Linked DNA regions of Homo sapiens: regions 2, 3, 4 and 5 are each linked to region 1. The links are contacts of gene promoters, found by promoter capture Hi-C in blood cells and fetal thymus (Javierre and others, 2016). All regions are on one chromosome and are shown on one strand. Each heading gives the region's core, a stretch centred on a gene start or on the middle of the fragment in contact. The rest is flanking DNA. Distances are from core to core; before and after follow the strand shown. Region 1 holds the start of PGGT1B (protein geranylgeranyltransferase type I subunit beta). Region 2 overlaps TMED7-TICAM2 (TMED7-TICAM2 readthrough). Region 3 has its middle 22 kb from the start of FEM1C. Region 4 has its middle 4.7 kb from the start of FEM1C. Region 5 overlaps FEM1C (fem-1 homolog C).

The links. The method cuts DNA at HindIII sites, captures the fragments that hold promoters and counts their contacts. A CHiCAGO score of 5 or more calls a contact.
Region 2: a fragment that was not itself captured here is called in contact with the fragment with the promoter of PGGT1B in region 1 in 9 of 17 cell types (M2 macrophages, naive B cells, naive CD8 T cells and 6 more); the score reaches 7.0 in M2 macrophages.
Region 3: a contact is called between a fragment that was not itself captured here and the fragment with the promoter of PGGT1B in region 1, in 1 of 17 cell types (non-activated CD4 T cells). The highest score is 5.9, in non-activated CD4 T cells.
Region 4: a contact is called between a fragment that was not itself captured here and the fragment with the promoter of PGGT1B in region 1, in 4 of 17 cell types (non-activated CD4 T cells, monocytes, activated CD4 T cells and 1 more). The highest score is 7.2, in non-activated CD4 T cells.
Region 5: a fragment that was not itself captured here is called in contact with the fragment with the promoter of PGGT1B in region 1 in 1 of 17 cell types (activated CD4 T cells); the score reaches 5.6 in activated CD4 T cells.

Annotation. Positions count from the first base shown.
Region 1 is chr5:115,261,604-115,264,161 of GRCh38, forward strand. It overlaps PGGT1B (protein geranylgeranyltransferase type I subunit beta), which reads right to left and starts at 1,274. Exons shown (of 9, transcript NM_005023.4): 1 at 1,109-1,274. The coding sequence starts at 1,248. RefSeq lists enhancers at 1,133-1,312, 1,343-1,392. The HindIII fragment of the contact is 10,345 bases long and covers 1-2,558 here.
Region 2 is chr5:115,582,398-115,584,955 of GRCh38, forward strand. The region is part of intron 3 of TMED7-TICAM2 (TMED7-TICAM2 readthrough); the gene reads right to left. All of the region lies in intron 1 of TICAM2 (TIR domain containing adaptor molecule 2), which reads right to left. Among named protein-coding and RNA genes, the nearest start is that of TICAM2-AS1, 18 kb to the right of the region's middle. The HindIII fragment of the contact is 7,881 bases long and covers 1-2,558 here.
Region 3 is chr5:115,565,865-115,568,422 of GRCh38, forward strand. No RefSeq gene overlaps it. Among named protein-coding and RNA genes, the nearest start is that of FEM1C, 22 kb to the left of the region's middle. The HindIII fragment of the contact is 3,777 bases long and covers 1-2,558 here.
Region 4 is chr5:115,548,148-115,550,705 of GRCh38, forward strand. No RefSeq gene overlaps it. Among named protein-coding and RNA genes, the nearest start is that of FEM1C, 4.7 kb to the left of the region's middle. The HindIII fragment of the contact is 7,329 bases long and covers 1-2,558 here.
Region 5 is chr5:115,523,372-115,525,929 of GRCh38, forward strand. It overlaps FEM1C (fem-1 homolog C), which reads right to left. Exons shown (of 3, transcript NM_020177.3): 3 at 1-2,246. The coding sequence ends at 937. Among named protein-coding and RNA genes, the nearest start is that of FEM1C, 20 kb to the right of the region's middle. The HindIII fragment of the contact is 2,106 bases long and covers 237-2,342 here.

The DNA.
Region 1 (2,558 bases), core at 24-2,523:
TCCTAAGTATAGAGGTAAACAAGATAGACGAAAATGTTACCTTTGTGAAGTTTATAATCCAGTGTAATAGAAAGACATTAAACAAATAAACCAATACATACGTAATGTGAGGTGGTCATTGGAAGTGGTCCCTTTAGGAAGGGTGTTTAAGGAAGGCCTCTCTAAAGATATCTGGATTATGTACATGCCTGTCTATATACTCCTATGAACACTACACTAACATATAGCACAGAACTCTATACAAATGCTTGTCTTGTTCAGCTGTACTCTGGCACCTACCATAATGTGGTTCTTGACCAAGTGTGCAGAAGTAATCTGCAAAGCTCCCCAAACTGATCCGGTCATGCAGTGTTCAAAATACACCAGCAACTCAGAATTTGGAAAACGTGGGGAAAGAACACAGCAAAAACAAGCCGCTCTTTCCTCCCATCCAGTCTCAAGCAGCTTTTGAGCTTCACTTCAAAACACAGCAATGCGGAGCAAAGATTGCCTTCTCCTTTCTTTCTTCTCATCCCCAGCTTTTACTGTAAATGAAGTCGCTTAGTCTCTGCCGCACCACACTCTTCAGCTATTGCGATACTTTTAACAGGCTGCTTCACGCAACACCACACCTCTTTCGCCTACCATTAGATTTATAGTTCCCACAAAGTTTCTAAGACCTTAGAGGTTCTCTGCCGCTCCTACACATAAAACACCATACAGACACTCTATTAAGAGTTAATGACTTTAGAGAGGACAAGGATGCACAGAAGTATTCATCTAAAAATACGACGACAAACTTTGTCCTTTTCCTTTTACACTCGGAAGTAATGAGGCAAAGTGACAGGCTATGGGAGCGGGTAAAAAAGCAGCTCAGAGTTGCCAGAAGAAAAGGGAAGTGAAAAAGCCGGAAACTGGAGATGCCACAGCCCTCGACCTACAGCCTTCCAGACCTTCCCACCGTACGGCGGGAGAGTGGGGGTAACCTCAAGCCCACTTGAAACCAGTCAGTGCCAACTGGGCGGCCGCGCAGCCCCCTTCCGGCGCCCAGTTTGCGGTCCGACTCCGCCGCGCCTTTCCGCTGGAGCCCGGGCCTTGTGCCAGCCTGGCTGACTGTGCCACGAGTTACCTGCTTGTCTCGAGTGAAGAATAGCGCTCCGGCAAAACCTGGAGGCAGCGCTGGAAAAATCGCACGTGCCGATCCCGTAAGAAATCCAGCCGCTCTCCCTCACCGCTCCCTGCTAGCCTCTCATCCTCAGTGGCCGCCATGCTGCTCCGGAAGCGACGTCCGCCGCGACCCGGAATCAGTGCCCGCGGAGAGAAAGAACCCTCCTGTGCTGAACCACAGGGTGCCGGGTGAGGGGACCTGCGCCCGCCGCAGACTAAGCCAGTATTTGAAACCGCTATCATCTGGGTCCTGTGCAGCACTTCCTCTCTCCGATATCTCCCTAGCTAGCGCATGACCCTACCTTTTCTACTCAAAGCCCTCGAGGCTTGTAAACACCTCGCAGGCCTTGTGAAAATCAAGTCCACAAATCCCTCCGTCAGAATTTTTATCTTGGGAAGCGCAAGGTCAAAAGCATCAAGTACGCTTTGAGACAATTCTGGCTCTGTAGAACCTGAGGATGGTATATCTGAAAACGAGGATGGATCAGTATAAACTTGCTAACAGATTCATTTTTGGAGGGCCAGTTTTAAGCCGAACGGTTAGGGAAACAGAAAAACAAACCAGTGGAGATAAATGTTTATTGACACTACAAAAGCTCAGAGACTTTCCTAATCTTAATCCTTTCTGGATACCAGGAATCACTTAAAAATCTGTGTATAATGCCCCCAAACATATACAACATGCATATTCATACCTATATATGACTGCTTGCGTCATTCTTTTACAAATCTTACAGATTTTACTTTGCTTGAGTCGACGTGTTATCAAGAATCAATGGTGCATCAATCTGCAACAGCAAAATAAGCTCAATATCTTCTCCAATTACCTGCATTCTAAAAAATTTAAACATGCTTCTAGTTCTTTTTTCCAAAAATAGGGATTTAAGTTGTTTAGCCGGTATACTATGCCCTTTAAACTTTCATGAGGCATTCCTGAGTAGCGGGTGGGGGGATCCACCCAATAATATAACTAAACTAGGTTCCCTGTGATCAACTTAGCTAATAAAATTTTGGGTTTAATTTTGTTAGCTTTCTTAGAAAATGTAATTCTTATACTCTATGGGCTGGGGTAATCTTACACTTATTCAACAATCCAAAGTGCTCTGAATAATTTTTGGTACTATTAACTACTTATTCACAGGTATTCCTGCATGTCTTTACAAAATGCCGCATTTAACAGCCACAGACGGATTCTAGGCTGTCCTCGGTACTTCCCTACAAATACGGAGCTCACAGTCCTTGCCCTTCAGGTGTGCCCAGTCTGGAGTTTCCACTGTTATTAAAATTAAGATCTCTCACTTAGCACACATACCCCCAAATGCCTGAAGATTTTTAAAGTGGAGTCTTATACACATTTAACTTACTGGAATCAGCTATGGACACTCTATACATTCTCAGAAAATTAATTCTAA
Region 2 (2,558 bases), core at 31-2,530, 320 kb after region 1:
CCTGGGCTCAAGCAATCCTCCCGCCTCAGCCTCTCAAAGCTCTGGGATTACAGGTATGAGCTACCACGTCTGGCCTAGACTCATTCTTTTATTTAAAAAAATTCTAAATTCAGAGTGGAAGAACTAGATCAACTGTGAAAGAAAAGTATACCATGTGAATCTAATTTAAATAAGTCTTCAGAAAACATTGGCAATATTCCTAATAAAATCCCCCAGACAGGCAGTTTCAAGGGGAATTCTTTTATTAAAAGACAGAACATTTAGAATATATAAATACAGGTTTCATACTTTCAAATGTGAGCCACAGACTATATTCCAGAGCATTTCTACTTGTTCTTTATGGGCAAAGGCCATACCTCAAGAAGAAATTATAACATTCATAACAACATAAGTAACATGGCTACATATGCCTACATAATTCAGGTTTAGAAGAAACTGTTCAACAAAAGTGGTGAAAACTGTCATGGGAACAAAAACCAAGGAAAAAAACAGAGAATTTCATTCAATGTATGTGAGTAAAAATGTTTGCAGCTGCCTCTGACTAGTGAGGAAACTGCTGACCACTCCGTCATTCACTCTGTCTGTACTTTAGGTTCTCGCTCCACGGTATATTGTGCTAGTTACCAAGAGGTATTCTAAGGCATAATAACTCTAAAATGTGACATATATCCATCCAAAATAATAAAACCAAATTAATTTGGACTCTCTTCATTGATTAGGATTCACTGCTGACTTTTGTTACTGCATCGTAAAAAAAAAGGGTTTTGCTATGCAAAGTTGCAGAAAGAAGTTTCCCCTGAATGAGAAAACAATAGTTAAACCATCCAGAGGCATCTATTTACTGTCAATTAAAATGATCTACACTTATCACTGAATTCAACACCATTATCTTAGTCACTAGCCGGTAAGACAAGTGCTTTGAAGGAATATAACAGCTATTTATAAAGAATATGAAAAACTTCTAGGGTAAGATAGTGTGTCAAGGCAGATCACAAAATCTTTTAAAATAAAAACAAAGAATTACAACTTCGACTTATTTTTCTTAAATACCAGTTAGCAAAAAAGAGCAAAAGACTTCAGAAATCTATGATGTGTTCCAACTTCCAAGCAGTGTCACCCACCTAATCAGACCGAGAGAAAAAAACTAGTGGCAATGTCTATAAAACTTTACCATCATCTTCTAATCTGGAGGGAGGGAGTAAGGAGACTGCCAAGGGAACAAGCTGTGGAAAGTTGTGCTGTTCCCACCACCACTGTGACTCAGACATGGAGAGATGGTCAGGATTCCTTAGTGCACTGTGGTTCCCAGGGCTGGGAGGAAGTGAGAGGACACGACTGTGCTTCACTGTTGGCCAGTTAACTCCATCAGTAAAAAGGGCTCTACTGGAACAAAGGAAAGGCATGGCGTGGTGAAGGAAATCTGGGGAAGGTTGGCCAAAGGAATCCTGGAAAGCCTCCTTTAAAGTTCTCCTCCTCCATCAGAACAATGAACACCAGGCTTAAAAAATTTAGGTTTCACCTCCTTGCTTCAGCTAAATGGAAGGAGAGTGAGGGTGCCACTTGGGAGACGCATGTGAGACCACTGTTCATAAAAATTAAAATGTGTATGTATATACATTTTCATTTACTTTTTTTAAAAAAAGGTGGTGGTGTGTCTCCATCCATCCTGTTACTTATTCCCATGGTCTCCTGCTGGTGACCACTTTTATCAGTTTCTCCTGCATCTTTCCACTGTTTCTCTATGAATATATATTCTTATTTTTCTTTCCTTTTTTCAAAAATGTCCCAAAATTCAAACAAGGATATTTTGAAAGAATATTCTTGTTATTCTTTCCTTTTCAAAAAAAGTATCATTATTCATATGTATACATGACATATAAATCCCAAACAGCAGTGGATAAACATTAGTATACATTGCTTTTTCCCTTTATATCTTCAGAGCTTTCCGTAACAGCGCATAGAGAACTTCTTCTTATTTACAACTACATAATCATGCAGCATGTGGCTATCCCATAATCATTCCCTGTTCTTGGATATGTGAGTTGTTTCCAGTCTACTACTAGGACAAACTATGCTGCAATGGATAATTCTGTACAAAAAGCATTTCATATGTGTGCAAGTTTATCTATAGAACAATTCCCCCAATGGGATTTCCATTTGTAACAGTGATTCATTTGGTCAAATTGCTCTCCGTAGGGCTGAGCCTTTTTTAAAAAAACTTATAACTTGATAGAATGACACCCCAACTCTATCCCTTGCCCCAGAAAAGACATAAGAGAAAAACTACCAATTACTGTTGACCAAAGCCCAACAGAGTGAATCATATCCATCCCCTCAGGCAACAGAAATGTGAAGAAACATAATCAATCCAAATGGTACCCTTAAACTAAAGTTCTGAAGGGAAGATCAATAGGCCTGAGATAAGAAGGAAGGAGAGTCCAGAATTTATCCACTTCATATCTATGCAAAAGAGGACCCCAGTAGAATTCTCTATATTAAACAGAAGAGGAATGAAAAAAACAACATGGCAAATATGCTATGGTGAATATGTAAAATAT
Region 3 (2,558 bases), core at 20-2,519, 300 kb after region 1:
AGCTAACCCCCTGCACCCAGAAAAGTAGGCACTGAACAACCTGTGAGACCGGCTGTAGGTTCTGAATCCTGAAAAGCCACAGCGTTGGGGCTGCCCAAGGCCTTGGGAGCCCATTTCTTGCACCAGTGTACCTTGTATGTGGGACATGATATCAAAGGAGATTATTTTGGAGCTTTAAGATTTAATGTCTGCCTTGCTGGGTTTCAGACTTCATGGAAACTGAAGCCCCTTTCTTTTGGCCTATTTCTCCCTTTTGGAATGGGGATGTTTACTCAATGCCTGTACTCTCATTGTATATTGGAAATAAATAACTTGGTTTTGATTTTGCAGGCTTATAGGTAGAAGGAACTTGCCTTGTGTCAGATGAGATTTTGGACTTTGGACTTTTGAGTTAATGCTGGAATGAGTTAAGTCTTTAGGGGACTACTGGGAAGGCATGATTGTATTTTGCAATGTGAGAAGGACATGTGATTTGGGGGGCCAGGGGTGGAATGATATAGTTTGAATGTATGTCCCTGTCAAATCTTATTTGAATTGTAATGAAGTTGTAATGAATTGTAATGAGTTGAATTGTAATCCCTAATGTTGAAGGTGGAGCCAAATGGGAGGTATTTGGGTCATGGGGGCAGATCCCTTTTAGCTTGGTGCTATTCTTGCAATTATTAGTGAGTATTCACGAGATCTGGGTAAGTAAGTGGCACCTTTCTGACTGCTCCTGCTCCTGCTTTACCTTCTGCCGTGAGTAAAAGCTCCTTGAGGCTTCCCCAGAAGCTGGGCAGATGCTGGAGCCATGCTTGTACAACCTGCAGAACTATTAGCAAATTAAACCTCTTTTCTTTATGAATTACCCAGTCTCAGGTATTTATTGCAATACAACAATGCCTTACTAGTAATGATCAAAAGCTACAAAATAAACACCATGCTTGGAAGACTTTGACCAAGAATATTAAAATAGCCTCTATTATTAAGCAGCTACTATATGCCAGTATTGTACTTAGTGTTTTACACAATTTAGCTCATCTAAAACTCAGTACATTTGGTTTACCTAGGAGTAATAGAATGTTCAATTAAAAGTGGCTTAAATACTGAATAAATTTAGTGTTTCACATAATTCCATGATGTTATTGGCTCAGTGATGTCAAAAAGGACTCCTTCACTTACCATTTTTCTGCATCTTATCCTCAGTGTGTTCGTGACATCTTCATTTTAGATTACAAGTTGGCTAGAGTAGTCTCAGGTTTCACACGACTATATGTAATGAAAGTAGATTTCTAGCATCTCTTTTTATTAGAGAGGAAATGTTTCTCCTGCTGATTTCTCCCTTCGGACCCCAATGGCCAGGACTATGTCATGTTGTATTCAGGCCCTAGCTGCAAGAGCAACTGGGATCATGAGGATCTGGAATTTTCAGCCATAGTAATTGGAGGTGAGCTCCATTGGCAAGGAGTAAGGAGGGCAGGAGGGGTAACTCTTAGGTAGGAAGCCAACAGCATCATGCACAGGGGCTACCGTTATCCTCATTTTACAAAGGAGAAAACTGAATCTTAGACAGGTTATGTAATTTACCAACAATTACTCAGCTAGAACATGTGGTATTACAATCCAAATGCAGCTCTGTAGAATTCCAATGCCCAAACTCTTTAAGGACTTAGACTCCAAGTCAGATGGACCCAGGTTTACATCTCAACTCTGCCTCTTTTCATTGATGACTTTGATTTTTTATTTGTAAAAAGAAATTATTGTATTATCTATTTCGTTGGAATATGGTGATGATTAAATTCATAATGTATAGGTAGATCTAAAGTCCTGGCACTGATATTACTGTTGTCATCATCATCTATCAGCAGGAGCAACATTATTACCCGACTCCACTGGATGAAATTTCTAGGTTATCTTTCAGAGTCCAGTTGTTCTTTTCCCATCTTTCATAACACCTCGTATATGGAATTTACTTTGTTACTATGTCCATACTCTAACTTGGATTTTGGTTTTCACTCATATAGCTCCTTGAAGGCAGGGACGATGTCTTATTTATTTTTATATCTTCAGCCTGTTGTACAATGAATGATGCATAGTATGTGCTCAATAAAATATTTTGCATGAAGCTGTAGGTGAGGGTAGGAATAGCACTATAGCGCAACAATTGGGAGCTATAAATTCTATTCCCAATATTAGAGGAATCATCACATTCCAGAAAAACATTTGATTACAAATACATTATACAGGAAGGTCTACGATGACAGGCTTAGCATTTAAACAGCTATGTATTTTCTTTTTTTTTTTAGACGGAGTTTCGCTCGTCACCCAGGCTGGAGTGCAATGGCATGATCTTGGCTCACCACAACCTCCACCTCCTGGGTTCAAGCGATTCTCCTGCCTCAGCCTCCCAAGTAGCTGGGATTACAGGCACACACCACCAAGCCCAGCTAATTTTGTATTTTTAGTAGAGACAGGGTTACTCCATGTTGGTCAGGCTGGTCTCGAACTCCCGACCTCATGTGATCCTCCCGCCTCGGCCTCCCAAAGTGCTGGGATTACTGGCGTGAGCCACCACACCT
Region 4 (2,558 bases), core at 17-2,516, 290 kb after region 1:
TTTTAGTAGAGACGGGGTTTCGCCATGTTGGCCAGGCTGGTCTTGAACTCCTGACCTCAGGTGATCCACCCACCTTGGTCTCCCAAAATGCTGGGATAACAGGCATGAGCCACTGTGCCTGGCTTTTATATGTATTTTCATTGCAGAGAAATATAATAGAGTGATTCATAAAACACATTCAGCTAGGCATAGTGGCTCACGCCTGTAATCCCAGCATTTTGGGAGGCCCAGGCAGGAGGATTGCTTGAGCCCAGAAGTTCAAGACCAGGCTGGGCAACAGAGTGAGACCCTGTCTCTACAAAAAACTTAAAAATTAGCCAAGCATGGAAGTACATGCTTGCAGTCCCAGCTACTCCAGAGGCTGAGGTGGGAGGATCACTTGAGCCTGGGAGGTTGAGGCTTCAGTGAGCTGTGATTGCACCACTGCAGTCTAGCCTAGGTAACAGAGCGAGATACTGTCTCAAAAACAAAAACAAAAAACATATTCAAACATAAAAGTACATTAATTAGGATATATTCCTGAGGAATGGGATGTGGAATGGAATTATAAATGCGAAGAGAAAATAAATTATGTAAAAATATCCTATAGGTAAATAATAATTTGTTCATATATTTTTTTAAATGGTTCATAGTAAGCATAACTGCTATGATATTTAGATTTCGTTGGATTCATTTAAAAGCATGTTTTATTTAAAAATGTTAATTTTTACATTTTGCGGAAAATTGCAACCTTTGCGAATACTTAAACTTATGATGAAAAATTTTAGGTGACAATTGAAAAATATGTAGGAGGGTAGATAGCATCTCATGTGCATGAGTAAAAATGTTTGAAGACTTAATTGAAATGTTTGGAGACTTATTCACAACCCCCTATTGGAAGTCATTTCCATTTCTAAAGAACATTTGTTCTTCCAATCTTTGATTTTTTTTTTCTTAAATAGAAAATCAACTAAATTTCCTTTTATATAGATTTTACATTGTGTTTCTAAATGCCCACCTCTTTTCTACCTTCCATCAATGGGAGGGACAACTTTTTTGTTTGGTTTGGTTGGTTTGCTTTGGATTGGTTTGGTTATTAAGACTTTGATGTCTGGTTAAATCAGCAATTACTGTCTTCCTGAAAGCCACAGAATGCTACTGGGGCATAACAGGAAGACTCATTTTTAAGGGGTCTGTAGGGGGAGCCAAAGACTGGAAAAGGGGAAAGGGACCAGAGACAGCCTCTGAATTACCCATTCAGGTAAGTACCCAGAGATGACAGACAAAAAGGGGAACCACTTCCGGGAGCCAAGGTGAATATTCAGGCTTCCCCGACGGGGGAGCAAAGTGTTACTTGCATCCAGAGCATTTCCCTAGGCCCAAGGCTTTATAATGTAAGCCCAGAGGAGACATTACCCCTTACCTGAAAGGCTGATGGGGAGGAGGAATTGGATCAGCAAAAAGGGGACACCCTAATTATAGAACAATGAACATTTTCAGGCCTATAAGTTGTTTTCTTCTTCTCACATATTGCCTTGGGATAAATTTCCAAGAGTTGGATTACAGAATGTCTTTTTGGCTTTTCATATACATTGTTATACTATTTCCTAGAAGACTTAGACCAATCTGTCACCACCAGCAAGGCACTATTGACTTCACCAAACATTGAACCCACTTGATATTATATTTTTTGAAAATTCTTACTGGTTTTGTATGTGTTAAATGATACCGCCAAGTTTCCCAAATTTACCTGGCTACCCTTGGGATTTTTTTGGTCTGTGCAATATCCTTGAATTAGTAGAACATTCCTTCTATAGTATTCCTTCTGGGGATTGTCAAACATTTAATTCCTGCCAGTCTATATTTAAACCAGAAACCTCAGTGAAACAGTTTGCTTGCACGGTTTTGGTATACTTTGGTAACTTGTTCTAATTTGAGAAATGGCCAGGATGAATTTTTTTTAAATCTCTAGTTTTTGGTAACTAACTGGGCATAGTTCTATTTAGAAAAGTATGAAAAGAATCTACTTTCATGAATTTAAAAGTTACACAAAAATAGCATAGCAAGGTGTACGCTTCTTGTGCTATTTAGAAATGTCTTTCTCATATAAGTCCGCTTTATTAACACTGATAATTTGCTCAAGGTGAGATATTTTAATTGTCATAAATTCATTCACCACCTTAAAAATTATTGAATCCTGGAATCCCAGCACTTTGGGAGGTCTAGGCTGTCAGACTGCTTGAGCTCAGGAGTTCAAGACCAGTCTGGGCAACATAGCAAAACTCCATTTCTACAAAAAATACAAAAATTAGGCAGGCATGGTGATGCACACCTGTAGTCCCAGCTACTCAGGAGGGTGAGGTGAGAGGATGGCTTGAGTCTGGGAAGCGGAGGTTGCAGTGAGCTGAGATTGCGCCACTGCACTCCAGCCTGAGTGACAGAGCCAGACCCTGTCTAAAAACAAAACAAAACAACAACAAAAAAAACCCCAATAAAACAAAGTTATGGAATCCTATTATGTACTATGTTAGATACTGGATGAATATGACATAATCTCTACTTTTGAGGAATTGATGGTC
Region 5 (2,558 bases), core at 40-2,539, 260 kb after region 1:
TACACCTAATCACACCATCAGCACAAGCAGGACAATGCTGGAGCAGCATGAAAGGTGGGTCACTTTAAAAAGATTCTTCCTTTTACTGCATGATATATTAAGATGACAGACCTAAATTTCAACTGGGTTAATGAGTTAGAATAGATCTGTTTCCCAAATTTAGCACACAATAATTTCAGTGGATTAGAGAAAGAAACCTCAGATGTGAAGAAAGTGAAGAAAAAAACAAACAAAAAAGCTTGAGCTATAATAGCTAACCTGCAGCTCTAAAAATTGTCATGCTACAGAGTACTTTCAAAAAATTAAGTTTGTAACAAACATAAGAAAACAGTGTTTTGAGTTGAAGTTGACCAACTGCTGCATAGAAAATATGCTAACATACAACAGTCAAGTTTAAGCCTGTGCATAGAGAAGATAAAGCACTTATGGTAACTGCAAATGGTAACGAGTCCTTAAGGTTTGTACAACCTAGTATGGGTCCATAAGGAAAAAACTGTAGTAGAAATGGTTAGGACAAACAATAAAGTAGAAACAGGGGGGAAACTTGAGAAGAGAAGAAAGAAGCAAGAAAAAAAGACTTTCAATTGTATAAAATTCACAAACCAGTAAAGTATAAAGACACCATGGAGAAATGGTTAACTCTGCCCCAAACACCCAACAGCAAACAAAACCAGAATGAATAAGCCTTTGGCAGACAATTTTAGAAATTTGAATGTTACATTTCTCAATAATTCACAAACAATATATTATATGGTATATTTATATTAAATATTGGGAAACCAATGTTGTAAATTTGATGCTTATAATGCTTTAGCCAATGAGAGCACAATGATATCAATCAAGCTAAATGAATGCTGGTGTTATCACAACAGTGCTCATTTATGAAACAACTGTTACCAATTCGTGCTTTAACAGTGCTAAAATACAGTCAAGTTATCATCTATGAAGGGAAACAAAAGTCTCTAGCTTTTCTGGGATATGCCCTTTATAATATATTCTATGATTCACTATGACACGAGCAGCAAGACACTGCAATGTGGTATGATTTATAGGCTGGATTAAATTTTTAGCTATTTCCTTCTCATCCAGCAAGTCACTAGCAGTTTGTTTGTGCAAGTTTGTGGCATCAAAATGTGCACCTGATTTAATAAGGAGATTCATGATGTCTGGATGGTTGTTAAGAGCAGCGATATGCAGGGGACTGTTGTCATCCGAGTCTCTGACGTTCACATCAGCACCACATTCTATCAGTATTGCAGTAACTTGTAGAGATGGAAATTTACAAACAGGGTACCGCCCTACACATGTAGTATTCTTGTCCACAGCCAGATGAAGAGGGCTGAAGTTATTCTTTCCCCTTGGATGCAGCTTAAGAAACCTGTATATAGTCTGCTTTTTGAAATGGTCTTGTTCTAGAGTACAAGGAACTTTCTCTAACAAGCAAATTAAGTGCAAAATAATAGAAAGGGCCTTATTTAACTGTAATGGGTCAGCTGGACACTGAGTTTGTTTGATAGCTCGCTCTATTTCAAGGACGCTTTTGCAAAGTATGCCCATAAGATCATCAAATGTAACAGTAGTACCCAGCAGGCCTTTAGCCCTATCCTGTAGCATAAAGGAGAATAGTTCTGCAAAAGATAATAAGCTGCTGGCGGTCATTGGGCTTAAAGGATCCAAATTGCTCTGCTGCATATCCAAAGCATACTTCCATAGGTTGATGCATCGTTTGAAATTTCCAGAGTCTGCATAGACAGCGCCTCTATATCTAATATAGTAAGAGGTATCAGGATGAGAAGGACCAAGAATACGTTCTCTGATTAATAGTGCCTGCATTCTCATCTCATCAGGATCAGCAATAAGACCTTCTAGCTCTTCTGCACTGTTCACTTCCTTGGCATAATCATAAGCCATTATTAGTGTCTGTGGCACTGGTTTACTAATAATATTAGTCCTATCACTGTACCTCATGTTCATTGCCTTTTTCCAGTATTTCAAAGCCCCAAGCAGATCTCTTTTTTTGTCTACAAATGTAGCTCCCAGAAGCTCTAGAGCATTAATACGTTCTGTCTTGCTGGTCTGTGCATGGTGTGTCAGAAAATCCACAATATTTGTGTGACCAGTCACACTTGCTGAGAGAAGGGGAGTCATTCCATAACCATCCTTTTCCATCTTGGCACAATACATAAGAAGCATCTTCATGATGTCCAAACTTCCAGATTCTGCACAATCATGCAATGCAGTATTACCTTAAAGAGAGAGAGAAAAAAAGAAATAACATACATTGAGGGACCAAAATATAATGTAATATATATATGCACTTTAGAACCTAAAGAAAAGCAGGAAGCTTTAAGTTCCTAAGTAGGACATACTTGGTTTACAAACGAGAAAAAAAAATTCCCCCAGTACCTAAAACTAGTATCTGATATTAAACTTATTGAATAAATGACATGACCAAATTAGGTGTAAAAAGACATCCAAAGTCACCAGAAGAAATTCAAACTAATCCATGGTCTCTTCGTATTTTTCATTAATGTTTTAAAGTGCATATTTTATTATCT